Linked DNA regions of Homo sapiens: all the other regions are linked to region 2. Evidence: promoter capture Hi-C in 16 types of primary human blood cells and fetal thymus (Javierre and others, 2016). All regions are on one chromosome and are shown on one strand. Each heading gives the region's core, a stretch centred on a gene start or on the middle of the fragment in contact. The rest is flanking DNA. Distances are from core to core; before and after follow the strand shown. Region 1 holds the start of TMX1 (thioredoxin related transmembrane protein 1). Region 2 holds the start of CNIH1 (cornichon family member 1). Region 3 holds the start of PSMA3 (proteasome 20S subunit alpha 3).

Evidence for each region. The method cuts DNA at HindIII sites, captures the fragments that hold promoters and counts their contacts. A CHiCAGO score of 5 or more calls a contact.
Region 1: a contact is called between a fragment that was not itself captured here and the fragment with the promoter of CNIH1 in region 2, in 1 of 17 cell types (fetal thymus). The highest score is 6.5, in fetal thymus.
Region 3: a fragment that was not itself captured here is called in contact with the fragment with the promoter of CNIH1 in region 2 in 1 of 17 cell types (fetal thymus); the score reaches 5.4 in fetal thymus.

Annotation. Positions count from the first base shown.
Region 1 is chr14:51,239,253-51,243,142 of GRCh38, forward strand. It overlaps TMX1 (thioredoxin related transmembrane protein 1), which reads left to right and starts at 995. Exons shown (of 8, transcript NM_030755.5): 1 at 995-1,192. The coding sequence starts at 1,041. RefSeq lists a silencer at 831-1,173 and an enhancer at 1,034-1,273. The HindIII fragment of the contact is 1,305 bases long and covers 1,678-2,982 here.
Region 2 is chr14:54,439,742-54,443,350 of GRCh38, forward strand. CNIH1 (cornichon family member 1) reads right to left here and starts at 1,633. Exons shown (of 5, transcript NM_005776.3): 1 at 1,506-1,633. The coding sequence starts at 1,586. RefSeq lists silencers at 1,107-1,156, 1,167-1,526, 1,567-1,836 and enhancers at 1,242-2,040, 1,917-1,976. The HindIII fragment of the contact is 1,439 bases long and covers 771-2,209 here.
Region 3 is chr14:58,244,597-58,248,105 of GRCh38, forward strand. PSMA3 (proteasome 20S subunit alpha 3) reads left to right here and starts at 247. Exons shown (of 11, transcript NM_002788.4): 1 at 247-345; 2 at 3,154-3,236. The coding sequence starts at 325. RefSeq lists enhancers at 1-90, 259-1,156, 271-720. The HindIII fragment of the contact is 2,580 bases long and covers 546-3,125 here.

The DNA.
Region 1 (3,890 bases), core at 1,080-3,579, 3.2 Mb before region 2:
TCCCGGGTTCAAGCGATTCTCCTGCCTCAGCCTCCTGAGTAGCTGGGACTACAGGCGCCTGCCACCACGCCTGGCTAATTTTTGTATTTTTAGTAGAGACGGGGTTTCACTATGTTGGTCAGGCTGGTCACAAACTCCTGACCTCAAGTGATCCGCCTGCCTTGGCCTCCCTGTTTTGCTAGGATTACAGGCGTGAGCCACCGCACCTGCAACTATTTTCATTTGACTGATGGGGCAGTGCACATTTTGGTTTGCATTTGTATTTACGAATGTTTGAGAGAAAAAACTCAAATATCTTACAAGCCTATGTGTCTGGTTCCATTTTGAAGTACTGACCTAGGATCTCTGTACCTACTGAATTTTTTTTGAGAGATAACATACACCTGAAAGTGCATAAAGTGCACTGTCTTAAAATGTACAGCTTGATCCTTCTTTAAAAAAAATCATATACGTACGCCCATGTAACTACTGTTCATATCTAGATGTTGAACACCTCCAACACATCCAACATAACCATAATGTTCCTCTGCACCTTCCCTGTCTATAATCTCTCAGAAGTAAACCAATATTCCGACTCCTATAAAATCCATTAGCTTTACTACATGTTTCAAAGAAAACAAATGAGAACTCTGAAGGACATTTAATTGGAAAACTGCTTTAGCACATTATAAACTTACCAATTTGCTTGTAAACGCTAACCATTTGGCGCCAAAATCCTGGGAGGGTCTTTTAAACCGTTCTTCCTCAAAGCACCGCCCCACTTTTTACACCACGCCTCCTTTTGCTCTGTTCCTTCCCCCACAATATTGGGACACCCTAGGCGGTAGAAGCAGCCGCTTTTCTGTCATGCGCATTGCGGAGAGTCGTTCTTCCCTCTTTCCCGACTTCACCACTCACTGGGATCAGACCCCTGTCATGCGCATTGAGAGTCCTCTAGACAGGCGCTCCTCGCAGCACCGTAGTGCGCTTGCGCTGAGCAGCCCGCGAGGGCGGAAGTGGGAGCTGCGACCGCGCTCCCTGTGAGGTGGGCAAGCGGCGAAATGGCGCCCTCCGGGAGTCTTGCAGTTCCCCTGGCAGTCCTGGTGCTGTTGCTTTGGGGTGCTCCCTGGACGCACGGGCGGCGGAGCAACGTTCGCGTCATCACGGACGAGAACTGGAGAGAACTGCTGGAAGGAGACTGGATGATAGAATTGTGAGTGCGGGGCGGCCAGGGTCCTACGTCCGTGCCTGGACACACGACTTCACCCCGCACGTTCCTCGTGCGGGTCGCAGGCTCCCCAGGACTGCGCCTCCGAGTTGCGGAGCGAGCGTCCCCGACTTCTGCAGCTCCCCAAACTCTTGGGATCTGCCGCCAGCTTGGTCCCACCCCCTCGTCTCTTACCCGTGAATGTTAAGTTTCTTCTGGGGTGCACCCTCGTTTCGTTTCTTGGGTTGTGGTGCGCCCAAAGGGTTAGTGCCAATGCGAATTCTGACATTTTTCATGACTTTGAGGATGCGACTGGGGCGCGGGGAGGGAGGTGTCCGACTCGTGTCTAAGTAGTTAAAGTGATTCTTCACAGACTTCTACACTTATTTTCACCACATTTTACATAAGAGAATATTGAGCAAAATTTCTCCTCTCGTTTTGTCTGTCCTTAAAAGATAGTCTCTTTATGGTGTTGGAATTTGGCGCTTTTAAGCTTTTTTTAATGGATTGGGTACGTTTCTTTTTTATTGTAAATACTGAGTCAATTCAAGTTGGGTTATTTTTAAGTTTTCGTTTTCTCTTTTTGCCTCCTCTTTTGCTTTCTCTTTTTTTCACTCCTCATCTCATTTTTCCTTTGGGTGTCTTTGTAGTGTAGAGAATACCTTGGGTTGTGACTCCTAGGTCTTTGTAAATGGTATTACATTAAAAGATAATGTATTAATGTATACACTCTCAAGAGCGCCAGGTCATCATTTATTGCTCGAACGAAATCATGTATTTTGTGTGGTGATTTCAATTTAATAATATCTGTTCTGCCGCGGTGGGAAATAAAGTATCTGTCTTTGCTTTAGATGCTAAGTCGTTGTTGATGGTGGTATTATACATATTAGCAGTATTTACTGATAATAGTAAAAGCATAATTATTAACAGTGTACTGGACACCACTAAGCACCTTTACACGAATACCATATTTAATTCCCTACAAATTCTCTATGACAGGTGTTTTTCACGTTTTACAAATGAGTAACAAGATACCTAAATACTTTAGTTAACCTATGCAGATATTGCTGTGCTGGCTTTCTTTGGGTCTTCAGAGTAGGCATACAATAATTGTTGTTAGAACACCTTCTTCTTTAAAAAGGTTCAGCTGGAAGTGGCGTACGCTACCCAGGAGATTGAGGTATGAGGATGACTTGAGCCCAGGGGTTCAAGAGATCCTGGGCAACTAGCAAAATAAATAAGTAAATAAATAAAAATGAAAAGACAACAGGGTTCAGGTGAGTGTTTTCTTGTGTCACGAATACAGCAAGGGTTGTCAAGTTAAGGAGGCCAGTGAAAGTGACATCCCCAAGGGAGAACCCAGAAGGCTAAATCAGTAAGTCCTGTGTTATTTTTTAAAAAAACAAAACTGGCCGGCGCGGTGGCTCACGCCTGTAATCCCAGCACTTTGGGAGGCCGAGGCCGGTGGATCACGAGGTGAGGAGATCGAGACCATCCTGGCTAACACGGTGAAACGCCGTTTGTACTAAAAATACAAAAAATTACCTGGGCGTGGTGGCACGCGCCTGTAGTCCCAGCTACTCGGGAGGCTGAGGCAGAAGAATCGCTTGAATCTGGGAGTCAGAGGTTGCAGTGAGCCGAGGTCGCACCACTGCACTCCAGCCTGGGCGACAGAGTGAGACTCAATCTCAAAAAAAAAGTAGAACATTTATATGGAGGGTAAGATAAAGGGAAATTTTCATAGTATGCATGTAGTCTGCAATTCTGAAATGAATTTTCATTCAGGCACCATTGAAAGCTTCAGGGGAGAGGAACTGTGACACTTTTTCAGTCATCATCATGAGTAACTTGTTTTAGATCGTGCCTGTAAAATAGTGTTATAAGCAATATATTAAGCAATAGTGATCGTGTGTGTATATGCAAAATACAGTCAAGTATTACTCAAGGATATTTTTTAACTCATTATGGTCCAACTATATAAATACAGCAATCAGAAGTAGTATTAAGGAGAACAAGACTAACAAAACATTGAGTATGAGGTAAATCCACATTGGAGCATCTATCTGAAATTATGCTATAGAGTAGTAGTTTTTCTTTTTCCTTAAGTAGAGATTCTAAAGTAAGTTTTTAGAAAGCAACTGACAGCCTGGGCAACATGGCAAAAACCAGTCTCTACAAAAAAATACGAAAAATTAGCTGGGCGTGTGGGCAGGCATCTGTAGTCCCAGCTACTTGGGCTGAGGTGGGAGGATGTCTTGAGCCCGGGAGGTTGAGGTTGCAGTGAGCCCAGATGGCGCCACTGCCCTCCAGCCTGGGTAACAAAGCGAGACCCTGTTTCAAAAAATAAAAAAGCAACTGAGCAACAAAACGAACCTGAAAAAGAAGGACTCTAGTAGTTTTAGTAATAGTCTGCTCCTAATTACAAGTGAATTATCTACAGTAAATCCATTTCTGCTCAGAAGTTTTGTCATGGAGATATTTTCATTGTAATACGATTTATTGTTAGGAGCTTGGCTTTTATACTACCAGTTTGTCTTGTTCTACAATGTCTATTTTAGGAGTTTGGTTTTCATAAAACAAGTGAAGAAAATGTGAAGTACAGAAAGTATAGTTTTGTGTTTAACTGCTTTAGGCTTTATTCTTCCTGGTTCTGTTAAAAAAAAAAAAAAAAAAAGAACAACCCTGTGGTGTATTATAAGATAAA
Region 2 (3,609 bases), core at 383-2,882:
GGGTTTCACCATGTTGGCCAGGCTGGTCTCGAACTCCTGACCTCGTGATCCTCCCGCCTCGGCCTCCCAAAGTGCTGGGATTACAGGAGTGAGCCACCGCGCCCGGCCATGGAACCACACATTTTCATCAGAGGCCTACTAAGGTTGAGCTAGTCTGTATCCCAAATTATCTTAGGTATTGTTCTTCCATCAAAGCAGGGCTGAAGATGCTCTTCAAATTACTGCTCCTACTGACAAGCATTCTGAGGTAGCAGTTATTTCCGACACAGTTAATAGCCTACATAAGTATTCCTGATTACAATAAGCAGTCAGGTCCTAAAATAATTGTAAACATAATCACACTGCTTAGCAAAAAGGAATGGATTTGTGATATGCTTCCACTTTCGAGACTTTTTTGCACAAGACGCTGCTGCTGTTTAATCATTCTGCCCCTCCGTATGTTTCATAGAAATCCTTGTTACTGGCATGATGAAACCTGACTTAAAATCTACGTAAGAGTGAACGCGGTCATTCAAATTAAAAGCAACATTCCAGAAGGCACTGGAATATGGGGAAAAGAGAAGCAAGTATGAGATAAATTTTTAATGAATGATTTCCAGAAGGCTCTCAAGGCTTTTAATTTTGTGCTAAAGCAACAGAAATTCTTATCTCTGTAGAACTATGTCACAGGGAACTTACGACTTTTTCCTTAGAGGGACCAGTAAGGCTGTGCTTCCACCCTGCAATAGTGATGATGATGTGTGTAACAGAAATAAATACTGCCCCAGAAAAGCTTAAGGTTTCTGAGCATCTCAAAATCAAATGAAAACTCCCTCTACTAAATCAAGCAATCCTGAATATAAGGGTGGCTTGGAAAGCTGCCTGTTGAAACTCCAGCGGTCAAAGTATGATTTGGGGGGGAAACGCGCACATGCAATCAACAAAGTAATCAATTGAACTTGCATCAAAGTTCACCAGGAAACAACAATCTGGAAAAAGAGAAAAAAAGTGATTTGATTTGAAGAGCACCGAACAAGTGCTGAAAAGTAGAGTTGGAAATTCACCCTAAGTAGGTTACATTTTGGCCACAGTTCTGTGGAAACCCTAAAAGAAAGTCAATCTGTATTAACAAAAATTCGGAAAACTTCATTCACACTACGGCCGTCCCACCGCGCTGTCGACATCCTCCCCGGGAATGCAGGGCCGCGGGCCGGCAGAGGTCGGTGCGAACGCAGCGCGGAACCGCGGGCGCCCGCCTGGACCGCGGCCGCCCCATCCAGTAGGGGAGGAGTAGCGGTGCGCGCGGCCTGTGCCGAGGCAACGCGGGCGCGTCCACCTGGCGACTGCGCGCCCCGGCTCCTCCAGTACCCGCGGCCCCCAGACCCCTCGCCGCGCGGCCCGTGCCAGCCGGGCCGCATCCCCGACGCGCAAAGCCCCGGCGGCCGTGGCGGCCCGGACCGCGGGCCCGGGGCGAAAAGAGGCTGTGTTGCCGCCTCGCCCTCCTTTCCCCAGCCCCAGCTACTCACGTGCCAAATGGCGAAGAAGATGAGCGCGGCAGTGAGCAGCAGCGCCAGCATGTAGCAGAAGGCCGCGAACGTGAACGCCATGGCTGGGGAGGAGGAGCGGGGAGCGGCGCCGTTGCCAGCGGAGAAAGGCGGCGCAGGGCCCTCTGGGTAAAACCATTCACTTCCCCCGGCCACAGCCGCGACCGCCACCGCTACCGCCGCGGCGCCAGCCCTCTCAGCGCGCCTGCGCACCAGCCCAGCCGCCCCGGCGCCCTCTGATGGCCGGAGTCTGCGTTGCACTGACATTGTCCGCACAGTTGTTGATTGATTTTTCCTTCCTTCTTGCGTTTATTCTTTCAACAAATATTTATTGAATGAATGCCTAGTTTGTTACAGGTACCGCGCTTCTCGCTTCAGATACAAAGATGAATAAGATAGTACCTGCACTGAAAGAACTTAGTATAGTGCCGGAAATGAACACCTAAATAAATAATTACGTTATTATAACCCCGTAAACGGATGTGTGTGGGATGCTCTGAAAGGTCAAAGAAGGACAGCCAGCCCGCCCTGGAGCATTTAGGCAGGATTCCTGCTGTAGGTGTTTCCTAAGTTGGCCTTAGATGATGATAAGTTCTCCAGGCAAAAAGAAGGTAGAACTGGCAGTCCAAGGAAACAGTTCAGAATGAGGAAACGCAACAGAGATGGAAAAAAGAAAAGAAAAATAAAGCTTCGTGTCTCAGGTGAAACCAGCAGCAATTCTGTATTAATGGAACCTAAGTGCAAGACAGTGGTGAGACTTAGAAATGAATTAGCAAGGGATCAGATCATAGAGGGCCTTATAATGCTTCATTACGGAGCTCAGACTTCTTATCCCATAAGCCCAAATTTTTTGCTCACCACACACAACTAGAAAGATTTTTTTCATTGCAACCCAGTGGAATATCATACAGACATCAAGTTATGAAGAGGTGGAAATCTAGTTATAGAGGCAAAGAAATATAGATATGACCAAAACAAAAATTTCACAAAACTGTACTAATGATCCATAAGTACTTTCCCTTCTCTCTTTTGCTACTTGTTTTTAATGCTGGTCTTAACACACAAAATTGATTCAAAATTGATTTAACTTTCCATTACAACCATTTTTAAAAGAAAAAAACTCTATTAACTGATTGCTGCTGATGGAAGAGAAAATCATTGAAGGCTTTTGAGCAAAAGAAGACCATGTTTAGATTTGCATTAAAGATCGTTCACCTAGCAAATTGCGTAGAATAGTTTAGAAGCAGGGTCTGTCCAGTGCTGTGCAATAGAACCTTCTGTGATGGTGAAAATTTTCGATACCTAAACATTGCCCAATACAGTAGCCACTAGCCACATGTGGCCATTGGGCACTTGTAAATTGTCTAGCATGACTGAGGAACTGAACTTTAAATTTCACATCACTTTAAGTAAAATGTGGCTAGTGTATTGGACAGTACAACCTGTACCACCAGGATTATGTGGCACCTGTGTGCAAATTATCAAGTTACTTTTGGCCAGGCACAGCAGCTCATGCCTGTAATCCTAACACTTTGGGAGGCCAAGACAGGAGGATCACTTGAGCTCAGGAATTCAAGACCAGCCTGGACAAGGTAATGAGATCTTGAGAGGTGACAGCGTGCTGGCAGTCCTCACAGCCCTCCCTCACTCTCGGCGCCTCCTCTGCCTGGGCTGCCACTTTGGCGGCACTTGAGGAGCCCTTCAGCCCACCGCTGCACTATGGGAGCCCCTTTCTGGGCTGGCCAAGGCCAGAGCCAGCTCCCTCAGCTTGCAGGGAGGTGTAGAGGAAGAGGCGCGAGGGGTAACCGGGACTGCGCAGGGTGCTTGCGGGCCAGCTGGAGTTCCGGGTTGGCGTGGGATTGGCGGGACCCTCACTCGGAGCAGCCGGCCGCCCCTGCCGGCCCCGGGTGATGAGGGGCTTAGCACCCGGGCCAGTGGCTGCAGAGGGTGTACTGGGTCCCCCAGCAGTGCCAGCCCACCGGCGCTGCACTCGATTTCTCACCGGGCCTTAGCTGCCTTCCCGCGGGGCAGGGCTCGGGACCTGCAGCCCGCCATGCCTGAGCCTCCCACCCCCTCCATGGGCTCC
Region 3 (3,509 bases), core at 586-3,085, 3.8 Mb after region 2:
TTCCAAGGAAAGGAATAGAGCAGCTTCTCAGATACCACGACGCCAAGCGGCTCAAAGTACGCGAACCGAAGGAGGAGCCTTTGCTTTCCCCAACCCCGCCTCCATTGCTTCTGCACATGCGCGCCGCCAGCCTCTCGCGGCCCGCTTTTTTCCCACAATACTCCTCGTCCTGGGGGCCGGAGCCGCGGAACGAGCCACAGAGAAAAAGGTTATTGGTTGGCAGTTCAGCCAATGAGCGGGCCTGTTACTAGTTTGCGGCATCCTGTGGTATAGGGGAAGCGCTCCGGGCCTGGAATCCCTACGCGTCCCTTTGGGTTTAGCACGATGAGCTCAATCGGCACTGGGGTGAGTTCGCTGTCTGTCGGTGTAATAGTTTAACCTAAGGATTGGGGTTGAAGGGAACTCGGACAGACCACATGGGGTTCGCGGACCCGGGGTGCTCTGAGACCGCCTTCGGCTGGGTGGGCCATTTGCAGCTGTTTGGAGACCGGTCGTCTTTATCCCCTATATGCTAGGCCTGCGTCTCAGGTGACCGTGACTCCTGAAGCTTTTCAGCGCAGGTGTAGCCGGCTTGGCGTCGCCGCAGTGAGGTTTGGAGCCGCTTTGGATTGCTGAGTCACTTTCTTCAGCCACTTAGGGAAACCGAAAGTGGAAACTCGTGGGGCTTGAAATAGTGTGTTCTCTTGAGAACCACCGAGGCAGTGAGATTTGGGATTCCGGGGTCTGGAGATCGTGCTTTTTGTGGACTGCGTTTGCAGTTCCTAGGGTGCTGCTGATTCACAGGCCTTCTCTGTCTTTAAGTGTGCAGATCATTGACCGCTCAGTTTAAGAGTCACTGGAAATCCTGTCGGAACAGAACTAATAAAAATGGTCTGAAAAACAATCTGATGAATCCTTCAGTTTTTCCTTTCTCGTTTTTCCTATACAAATTACCTAACAGCGCTTGTAGGCATTTATTCCGTAAACGTTTAAATGGTTACTTAGGAACTTAACAGCTTCAGACTTTTCATAGACTGTTGAGGATTTTGCAGTGGGACTTGTTAACTTGTTTGGCTTTCCTTTGTTAAACGTATTGCATATGTGCAGTCAGTTTACTCCTTTTATGTACTTCTCTATATAGAAAATACAGTTTCTAAAAGATTTATTGGTTATTTGCACTAGAGTTATTGAATAATGAGTTTCTCAGTTCCTCAATTTCTACTTCTTAACAAGATTCTCATGCTCAGCCTTAAGTTCAAGTACCGGTGTTCTAAATTTGATAATAGGCAACTTATGTCTGGAATGGTTTAATCCATTCAGTTATGAATGCTAAAGTTCTGCCATACTTTTCTTGGATAAGTAAATGCTCAATATTAAATCTTGTAGCAAACTGACTTTGCAATTATATTAATATTACCTTGAATTAATAGTATTTCATTCTACAAACCTTTTAAAGAATACTTGATAATGTAACCATGTGGGATATTTTAGTAACAATGGTAGGGTTAATGATCTGGGTTTAACAGATCAGGAAACAGACTCAGAAAGTACCACTGCTGAAGGCTTTTCTTCTGTCTTCATTTCTCCCAAGAACTCCAGATACGAATATTTGTTTGTCTGCTTGACATGTCTGTTCACTTGATCGTTTAATAGTCATTTCGTACTGCATGTGAAAGTAGAGCTCTGGGTTTTCTCCTCACCTTGCCATTTTGCATCTACTACAGTCTTCAGCTCAGTGAATGGTCATATGAAAAAATCTGTTATTCATCTTTAATTCCTTTTTTTACTTTACTCCCAGAACCAACGCTTTAGCAAGTTTATTTTTTTATTTTTATTTTGTTTGAGACGGAGTCTTGCTCTGTTGCCAGGCTGGAGTGCAGTGGCACGATCTTGGCTCACTGCAACCTGTGCCTCCCAGGTTCAAGCAATTCTCCTGTCTCAGCCTCCCGAAGAGCTGGGACTACAGGTGCGCACCACCACGCCCAGCTAATTTTTGTATTTTTCGTAGAGATGAGGTTTCACCATGTTGGCCAGGATGGTCTCCATCTCTTGACCTTGTGATCAGCCCGCCTCACCCTCCCAAAGTGCTGGGATTACAGGCATGAGCCATCACGCCTGGCCTAGCAAGTTTATTTTTATTATTTTTATATTTTACTCTACTCTCAAAAAATATTCCCTTCTACCTCTTCTCTCGTCTAAGCTACTACCGCTATCTTTGGAACACCTTATCTTTGCTTCTGTTGTTCTCTCTACAGCTTATTTTCCGCATAAAGCCAGAATGATGTTTTTAAAAATATAGATGATACCACTCCCCCTGCTTAAATTTCTCATTGCATTTAGAATAAAATACAGAGTCCTTTTTCCATCCTGGAAGACACAACATAATCTGGCCCTCAGCTACCTCACTAACACAGTTTACTCTTCTTTCTGCTGCTTACAGTGCTTGGGACACAGTGACCTTATTTCTGTTTCTTGACTGTGCTAGCCTTATTTCTACCCTAAGATCTTTGTGCCAAATGTCAAGAAGACTTTTCCTTCATATCTTAAATGGCTAGCTCCTTGTCATTTAGGTTTGACTCAGCCTAAATATAACTGCCCAGAAGGCCTTCCCTGATGATGTAGTCTGTAGTAGTTCATTGCTTTACTCTTTTATTTTCATCTTAGTGCCTTTTCTGATTTACTGCTGTACCTCTAGCACCTAGATTCATGTCTGATGTGAAACTGAAGGACTTAATGAATGAGTATACCTTTGTATTCCGTATAGTAACATAATAGATACTCATTAACTGCTTGGTGAATGCCGAATGATTTGTTTGAAGTCTTTTAGTTTGTTAATGGCAGAGTTATCGTTACAAATTTAAATGTTCGAACTCCAGTGCTGGTTCTACTGCCCCATATTAATCTTTTTCAAAAATGAGTTTTGTAGTCTGGGTGAAAAGTGTTCTGACTTCACCTGGGACCTGTATCCATTACTCTTCAATAGCTGAAATCGAAGGTATATAGCTTTATCTTAGCTACTGTTGCTGCTCTGACAAGTTTCCCTTTCCTCTCTTGAAAGCAAGGTCTTTGTTGGGATATAACAGGTTCCTGATGTTTCAGCCATTTAGAGGGGAAGAAACTGTATGGTCATTACTGCCAAAGATACAAGCTTACTGTTGCCCTTTTCTCCTTAAGTATGACCTGTCAGCCTCTACATTCTCTCCTGACGGAAGAGTTTTTCAAGTTGAATATGCTATGAAGGCTGTGGAAAATAGTAGGTAAGAAACATTTAACCAGGTATTACATGTCTCCTTTTATTTTATATATTTTTGGCGATTAGGCTTTGTTATGTTACTTTGGTACAAATTAGTATATGTCCCCAAATCTCAATTTATTCATTTCCAGATCTCTTTCTAGGCCAGATGCTTTCCATGAGCCCCAGTCCTATATTTCTCGTTGATTCCAGGATTATCCACTTAGATTTTCCATGTTGCAGAGTGTATAAATCACATTCATTATCATCTTTTTGTTTTCCATTTTCAAATTCTTGA